Linked DNA regions of Homo sapiens: all the other regions are linked to region 3. Evidence: promoter capture Hi-C in 16 types of primary human blood cells and fetal thymus (Javierre and others, 2016). All regions are on one chromosome and are shown on one strand. The core of a region is centred on a gene start or on the middle of the fragment in contact, and the rest is flanking DNA. Distances in the headings are between cores, read along the strand shown.

Region 1 (2,794 bases), core at 249-2,748, 340 kb after region 3:
GACTGCTCAGAGCCTTCTTTCTGAGGCAGATTCTATCAGCCGCTAATGTTAAGGGCAAATCTTACTCCTAAGGGCCATGTGCTAATGTGGGCACCGTTTTTCTTACTGCTACACATTCCCAACTGTTTGCCACAGTCAAAAGAACCAAAAATCCCAATAGCAGAGCTATCACATGCTTTTCCCCTTCCTCTCCCAAAAAATGTCACTTCAAAGGTCCCTAAAGAGCCCTTGATTTGCAATAACCTGCCATCAAAGTAAAATGGCAAAAGTCCACAACCCTGACATATACTCCCGTACTAGGGAGGAAATGGTGGTACTGACCTTTTCCCCCTTTCCTGTCCAGTCCAAGATCCAGAACCCAAGTTATCCGTTGTGCTCTTGCCAGAGCAATTTTAAATTGCCAATTTACTGAAGGTGAACTAAACAACTGTCATTTGCCTCCTTTGAACCCAATTAGGGTGGTGGTCGTCTGTCCTAGATCATGGGCCCCTCCAAATTCCTGATGCTTAGTAAGTTGATGTTTCATTAAAATGACAGGCAGGCCCCAATTATTCTGAGTACTGTATGATAGGCAGACTTCCAGCGAAAACACTCTAGTCCCTGTACTAGGTATGGATCGGGAAGTGCTCTTCTCCAAAGCATCCCATATTTTACAATTTTAGAAAGACAAAAATATGTGTATCATGGTCATCAGTATTACCATATAAGCATATTGTGCAGAAAACGGTACTGCATCTAAAAGATAGGCAAAGAACCTTTCTATATTGCAGACCCTGGAAGGCTGAGTTTGGGCGGGAAGAAAAAGCTAAGGTGTTTGGAGCTGGCTTACTTTTCTCCTCGAGGTTCTTCCTTTCGTCACCACTTTCAGAGCAGCACTAGAAGAAGAACAGATGTGACAAGCACATTAAGATTAAAGTCGTGGATGGAAAGCATACGGGGCTCCCAAAGGGCACCCACTGGAGGCAAGAGAGGTTCCAGACGCTCTCCCACTTTCTGAGCGACCAGGGCCGTCCGAATCAGGTACCTCAAAGTGCCACTGTCCTGGTGCCACCGCCACCTTCCCAGGAGGTGTGTGTCACCTCCGCAGGACCTGGAGTTACCTTGCCTGCTCACTAGAGCCACCTCCCTAGAGAAATCTGTCATCTCACCAGGGCCGCCAAAGCCACTTCACGGGGACTACCGCCTCCTCTAGGAGGTCTTACAAGGGCCTCTAATCTAAGCCGCAGGAAGCACCTTCACAAGCTTACAGGGCCACCGCACCGGGACTATCTCCCCCGGGAGGTCTGTGCCACCTCAATGGGCCACCAATGTCCCCTCCCAGGGACGCCAGGGCCGTCTCACCGGGGCTGCAGGAGAGGCGCCGATCTCGCCGGCTGGTAGCATCTCGCCTCCGCGCGAGTCCTCGGCTCCATTCGCAGCCAGCGTGGCCTGTGGAGTCTGGCTAAGGCCAGCGACACACTCACTACCCAGCCTCGGAGGCCGTAGGACTGAGTGCCACAGCGACTTCCTCTCGATGTCTCACTGGTTTCTTCCTCTCAGCCCAGAGAGGCCCTGCCCGTGCAGCCGCCGGCCGTGCTCTGTTCCTCCCCCTCCTGACCGGAGGTCGGAACGGCCACTCAGGAAGCGGGCACCCTCCCCTATGGAGCTCCAGAGAAGGGATTCGCTCACTCCACCGCGGTAAAAGTCCCCTCCACTTTATTGAAGCTCTTAATGATGGAACTTTAAGATATCCCTCTCCCAACGCCTTAAATTCAATATGAATAATTTAAATTTATATTTTAGGCAATATCCAGATGTTCTGAGAGTGTGGGGGGCTTGTTGACTAGGAGCTTCGGTGCAGGGTTATTTGGTTCGAATATTTAGTTGGGGGTTTCCAATGAATGTCAGTATCTTTAGATATTTCTTTTAACGTTGGTCAGAGTCCCTAGAGATGAGCTTCTGATTTCCTGCCTAGAGGGTGTAGAGGTGGTTATAAGCGTTCTGGGAGCTGAATGAAGAGAACAGAGCATCTAACATGTGTTTCGCCCAAAACCCTGTCTTTTACCAGGGAGGAGGAAAGGGAGCTACCTAGCAGCAAGGGTTGTGTAGAGGACCTGTGGACTTGACAGCCTCTTAAACAAACTAACACGGAAGGAGTACCATAGAGACCATAACAAACAAGGGGGGGGGAAAGCAACCCTCAGAGGAAAAAGAAACCACACGGTGAGAAGAAAAATCAAATACATGTGCACAGAGATATATAATCGAGCTACAAATTACTATTGCAAGCATAAAACAAGGATGGCTGGGCGCTGTGGCTCACGCCTGTAATCCCAGCACTTTGGGAGGCCGAGGCAGGCAGATTACGAGGTCAGGAGATCGAGACCATCCTGGCTAACATGGTGAAACCCCGTCTCTACTAAAAATACAAAAAATTAGCCAGGCGTGGTGGTGGGCGCCTGTAGTCCCAGCTACTCAGGAGGCTGAGGCAGGAGAATGGCGTGAACCCGGGAGGTGGAGCGTGCAGTGAGCAGAGACCGCACCACTGCACTCTAGCCTGGACGACAGAGCAAGACTCCGTCTCATTTAAAAAAAAAAAAAAAAACAAGGATACTATTTTTTAAATTACCTATTATGGGAACATAATCGTATATATTTATAGTGTACATGTGTGTTTGTTTTTTTTTTGCTCAGGCTGGGGTGCAATGGCGTTATCTCTGCTCGCAGCAACCTCCGCCTCCCAGGTTCAAGCGATTCGCCTGCCTCAGCCTCCCAAGTAGCTGGGATTACAGGCATGCACCACCACGCCCGTCTA
Region 2 (3,019 bases), core at 144-2,643, 280 kb before region 3:
CATGTTTCAAAAGGAATTGTCATCACAGTTTTACTCCAAGCAGTTGGCTTCCAAGAAGCCTGTCTCTGGCCATTGGGGATGTTAAAATAACCTAAATTTGGCCTGAGGAAGCCTTTGCACCCAAGTCCTTACTTAACTAACTGCAGGCAGCCTGGCTTACTAATCTAATTGAAAGCCTAAATTTAGGAGTATGCTTTTGTAAAAAATAGCTGAGTCTCCGCCATCACGGCAACTGAGCTTCCTTCAATCCCTGGCTGCCAACGATCAAATAAGGCAAACGCTGAGCCGGAACCAGTTAAGCCCTATATGTACCTCACTTCTGTTTTCCGTGCATCCATAACACTTGATCACATTGTTGACCATGTTCTTAGAACCCGTTCTGAATCAGAGGGCTGCCTGATTCACATGTCATGTGTTTTTGTTTTCTGAGTTTTTGTTTTTTTCTCACTTAAACTCTGCTAAACTTGTCTAAGGTTTTTCTTTTTAACAGGGTCTCTGGAACTCACTGCTCAAAGATCTTCCCTCTTGTTTATTGAAAGGTGACAGGTCCCCTCTAAAAACTGCAAGGTCAAGTATGTCTGTGACTTTAGCGACTGTCAAAAGAATGCAGGCAGGCCCAACTGAGTGGGGACACAAGGAAATATAGGGGATGACAAACAAGAACCGTCAGCTCTTGTGCCAGCTTCCTACGTACCGTCTGTGTTGGAACAATCACCCAGGTACTGACAGGTGCCAGCCTAGCTGCAGAGCAGGCTAACCCCAACCCCACCAAGCCCTGAGGGTGAACGTGGAGCAAGAACCTGGCTCACCAACTACAGCAAAAGAACCGTCTTGTTGAGCAAACTCTTCCCATGGGACTGTATAATACCTTTGGTTTCCCAACTTTTTACAAATTTACCTTGATCCTGAAATCTCTGCAGCACTTAAAGATTATGGACTTTTCTGTGAGAATCAGAGCTTTTGGACTATGTGACAGTACTTGTTGCCTGCTCAAAGTCTATTCTTCCTCCTTCCTTAGTGAGAGAACTTTGGACAGTATGTTTGTTTAAAAAGAAACAACAACAAAAAACTGCATTCCAAGCCTCTTGCACAGATTAATGTCACTAAATATGCCGGCGAGCCTGGGGATGAGGCCTTTTGGGAGGTGCATCTGCCCCTGTCCCTGTCCGATCCTGACTGAAACAGGGACACGGCCACAGCAGGGATGGTCCAGCAGTCATCTTGTGAGCTCAGTGCTGACAGCCACCCACAGGAGTGGCAGGCATACACAGGAGGGGTTGACACCAGTAACCTTTTGGAGCCACCATACCTGCCTCAACTCCTCCCTCCTTCTGTTACTGGAGAAAATAACTGAAACATTTATTCCCTAATTTTCTTAAGTCACTGACATCAACCCCCACCACTATAAGTGGCAGGAGGTTACCCTGCCCCATGCATTGTAAGCATCCAGTTAACAGTCACAGAGAAAACCCAGATGGAAGAAAGACACCCTCTTGCCTTTCCCTGATCGAGATAGGCAGCATCTGTTTTTGTTTCTCTTCCCCATATTGAAACAGAAATAACATTAGAACCTTAGAGTAAGGGGGCCAGAGGGTCTGGAGAGAGCTTCGCATCTTAGAGGCTGGGCAGTGACCAACCTGTGTAGGGAACAGAGTGAGGCCCTACCATCAACGCCAACTCTAGGAGGAACACCCCAGCTGGCCTCCCTGCCCTGTCCTCCACCCCCACAAGTTACATCTGAAGTTGAGGGAGGTGCAGCCAAATGATGCTCCTTCTCTTTTTATTTAAATTGTAAACATAAACTCATTTAACCAGAAAGTTATGCAGATACATAGTACAAATACAAAAAAAAATAGAGGAACATCAAAAGTGCTAATAATTCCACCCAAAGACAATTTCTTTTTAAAGCTGCAGAAATAACCTTCCAGATCTTTTCGGATATACATATATACAAATACATATTTATCATTAAATGGGATAATACTATAGATAGAATAGTGTGATTGTAAGTGTGCAATTCCAACCCGTCAACAATACATTGCTATTTTAATGTAACTAGAGTTGCCTGCCCTTCTGTCTGGCTCCACTGACATACCAGACTTAGGTCTGCCCTCCCATGCCACCACCAGTCCATCTCCATTTCTAAAAGGGCTTGAGAGGTGGTGGCATCCTTCAGAGGATGGCTTTGAGACCAGAAGCTGAAGCTACTTCTCTGCACCAGTACCAACTGGCTTGGCTTGGGACAATGGTGGGCTGAGCATGCCGATGATTCTGCCCGACACGGACCATCCAATGCAGTTCACCCACCCCAGCCCCCAGCTTTCCCAAGATTGCATCGCCCTTCACCCTCTTCCAGTGCACTGAGGAGACATCTCCCTTTTTAGTTTCTTTCCAGTCTACTAAAGGTGTAAACTCATTGCTCCACTCCACTGGGGTCTTTCATTTTGGCTCCCCAGAAAACCGAATGTAAACGGTTTCTCCCCATATTTGGCCTCTGTAACAACTCCACCTCCAGCGATGAAGGGCCAAGGACCAGGAGAGATGGGAAGAGTGGTGAATGCCCTACCACAGCAGCAAGGTGGTCAAGCACAGAACAGGGCCCGGCCCGTGCCTCTGACTCCTGCCCTCTGTAACTTCTATGACCTCCAAAACGTAAGGTTCAAAGAACTAAAGGAGTCGAGTATATTAGATAACTATTAGCCAGGGGCAGAAAAAAGAGCTTTTATCTGAGGAATGCAAGTCCTTTTAATTATCAGGCCCAGAGAGACATTAAAATGAGACTACAATCATGCCCTACTCCCCACTTTGAGCTACGTATTCATCTCTTGAGACTATTTGCTCTTTCCACATTTAGCTATAAATTAACCTAATAATGCCACACCCCACACTAGAATCCACACCCTATAGCTTAACAATAGATAGCCATTCACTAATCGATATTTCTGTAAACCCATGAGAATTTCTGACAAACAATTTTGTGTCAGCCCATTTCCCATACCCCTTTTCTTGCCTTTAAAAA
Region 3 (2,700 bases), core at 64-2,563:
GGTGCCAAGCTCAGGGAAATTATTAGATGGTTCAGCCAGGGCAGAACTCAGTCAGTACAAAGCAACTTCCAATCAGTGCGCTTCAGCTGTGACAACTTGGGAAACAGCAGTGGTGAGAGCTAAAAGGGTGCTGGCGAAAGAGAAAAAAAAATATGTCGCTTGTGGGGTGAGGGCGGTGTCCATATAGTTTAGATAATTCTAGTAAACAAAAGGATTTGTTAAAAAGAAGTAACAGAAGACTTTTTAAAGCCTTCTTTAAAGGGTGAAAATCTCAACTAAAGCACCCAACGTCCAAAATCCAGAGGAAATCTAGCGCTCCCTTTCTAGCTGGCTAGAGCAGTTAAGCCTGAAGTGAATTCTCCCAGGAATCAGATTCCTGGCCAAAGGTTGCCTGCGCAAACCCGGGCCACCCTCGTCTCACGGCAGGGAGCGCTGGAAACGGCTCAGGGGCTAGGCCCGTTAGCGTCGTCTTCCAAGAGCCGTAAATTCGCCCTCCCGCTCTGCTGACCCTGGAGCAAAGTCCATGCAGTGGTTCTCTGAGAGCCGGAGATACGCACCGCGCGGGGAACCCGGGGGTCCGGGGGCCCTAACTTTTGAGTTTTGCACGCCCCGCAGCCTGAGATGGGAAGGTAGCTCGTAGCGCTCCAAACTCACCTGCGTTTCAGAACGACATCTACCCACTGGTTTCAGCTCCTAGAGCAACAACTGCAGAATCTCCATGGTCCAAAGTCCTCCAGGAAAGAGAAGAAAGGGGTGACGGGGGTGAGGGCTGGGAGGCGAGGTCACCAGGGTCCCTTCCCTGGCTCGGGTGGGGGTGGGGGGCGCAACCCCTCACGGCTCCTCCCCACCAAGCCGTCGGGACCCCAGCGGGGGCGCCTCGCGTTGGGCGACAGGGACGCGGGGAGAGAGCGACAAGCTGGAAGCAAGGGCTGCCTGCAAAACTTTCGGTCCTCCAGCGGCAACTCTGCGGGAAAGACCACCCTTCCTTCGGCCCCGCGTCGGGCCTATCCCCGTGTGCCCCGACCCCTGCGCCCCAGGCTTGGGCGGCGCCGCTGCATCCCGGCTGCCGGGCGCGCTGCAGCCTTCGCTCTCCCGCACGCGGCGCTCGCCCGTCCGCGCTGCCCCTCCCCGGCAGGCGGGCGGCCCCGGCGGGCGGGCGGGCGCGGACTGCAGGTGCCTCTCTGCTGCCCCTGGCGGCCGCGGGCGCGCGAGCCCCACCGAGCCGGCTCCGGGAGCCCGAGCGCCCGCCCCTCCTCCGCTCCCTCTCCCCTCCTCCTCCGCCGCCCTCCTCCCATCCCGCCCTTCCTCCCTCCCTCCCCCTTTCAGAACACTCAATGTCGGAACGTTCCGAAGATGACGTCGGAGCGTTCTCGAATCCCGTGTCTCTCGGCTGCTGCTGCCGAAGGAACAGGGAAAAAGCAACAAGAAGGAAGAGCAATGGCGACACTGGATCGCAAAGTGCCCAGTCCGGAGGCGTTTCTGGGCAAACCCTGGTCCTCCTGGATCGACGCCGCCAAATTACACTGCTCCGACAGTAAGAACCCCACCACCTCCTCCTCCTTTTATTATCCTGTAACCTTTCCATTCACCTAGAGCCACTGGGAAAAAGTGTGTGTGTGAGAGAGAGAGTGGCCCCCGGTGTCCTCCATGCTTCTCCCTCTCTCTCTAAATAAATACACACAGAGACAGATCATCAATGCACAGGGAGAGGCCCGGCTGCCAGGGCTGTCTGTCTGTCTGTGCCCGGCTCCCCGTGGCAGCCCGCGGGGTGGGCTCGCAGCCCCACGGTGTTGTCCGTTTAAAAGGCTACTTTGTTGCTGCTTGCATAGTTTTTTGGGTACCTATCTGGGCCAGGTAGATGGAAACCCAGACTTGGGAGAAAATGTTGCATTGTCAATTTTTGAAAGAATTTCATATACAGTATTTATATCGATCTGTTTGCAAATAAACACTCTCCCTCCCCCCTTGACTTTGGCTTTTTTCCCCCCTTTTTTCCTTATTTTCTGTTTTCCTTTTCTTTTTCATCTGCAGATGTAGATTTAGAAGAGGCTGGAAAAGAGGGTGGAAAAAGCAGGGAGGTTATGAGGCTTAATAAAGAAGGTAAGTGGAGCTACTGGCATTTTAGTGTTAGCATGTGTGGCAGAATCTTCACAGGATTTCGAATATAATGTGAATTGTTCTGCTGGGTACAGAGTGACTAAGGCTTGTCAAAAATTGAGCACGCCCAGGTGACTACTGCTTCATGTTAACTTCTTTCAAAGTATAAATACAACTGGGGGGGGGGTAAAGGGGGGTGAGACTGTTGAAGGCAGAAGTTTACTGCACTTCAGTTGGACTCCACGTTTGAACCTTCTGATGCATATCTGCCATTCTCCTTGGGAGCATCATTGCCAAATGGTGGGGCGTTAAAATTTCTGAAATGAAGAGTGGAGTTCCCTTCACAAGCATCCCAGCCTTTCTCGTGGGTGAATGCACAACAGCTTAATGAACCCCACATGGTCAGTCATTCCAGCAGCTACTTCTCCACTCACCACTGAAAACCATTGTACATGGCAAACCTTTGCAGCAAGTTACATTTGGCCCACTTTGCATTTGGTCACAGATTGTTATGTGGCAAGCAGGGTTAGGAGCATCTGTATGTGCAGCCCCTCAGCAGTCATCATCTCTCTTTTCCCAGCATGGAAATACGGTACCTGAAAT

The links. Contacts are between HindIII fragments. The CHiCAGO score rates a contact against its expected background, and 5 or more counts as called.
Region 1: the fragment with the promoter of RINT1 here is called in contact with the fragment with the promoter of ATXN7L1 in region 3 in 3 of 17 cell types (monocytes, naive CD4 T cells and total B cells); the score reaches 9.0 in monocytes.
Region 2: a fragment that was not itself captured here is called in contact with the fragment with the promoter of ATXN7L1 in region 3 in 1 of 17 cell types (naive CD4 T cells); the score reaches 5.4 in naive CD4 T cells.

The regions. Positions count from the first base shown.
Region 1 is chr7:105,530,905-105,533,698 of GRCh38, reverse strand. It overlaps RINT1 (RAD50 interactor 1), which reads right to left and starts at 1,498. Exons shown (of 15, transcript NM_021930.6): 1 at 1,342-1,498; 2 at 830-875. The coding sequence starts at 1,383. RefSeq lists enhancers at 726-1,302, 1,148-1,327, 1,418-1,717, 1,303-1,880, 2,168-2,217. The HindIII fragment of the contact is 4,822 bases long and covers 1,245-2,794 here.
Region 2 is chr7:106,150,153-106,153,171 of GRCh38, reverse strand. No RefSeq gene overlaps it. Among named protein-coding and RNA genes, the nearest start is that of SYPL1, 39 kb to the right of the region's middle. The HindIII fragment of the contact is 4,604 bases long and covers 1-3,019 here.
Region 3 is chr7:105,875,212-105,877,911 of GRCh38, reverse strand. ATXN7L1 (ataxin 7 like 1) reads left to right here and starts at 1,313. Exons shown (of 12, transcript NM_020725.2): 1 at 1,313-1,534; 2 at 2,032-2,100. The coding sequence starts at 1,354. RefSeq lists a silencer at 1,061-1,270. The HindIII fragment of the contact is 13,815 bases long and covers 1-2,700 here.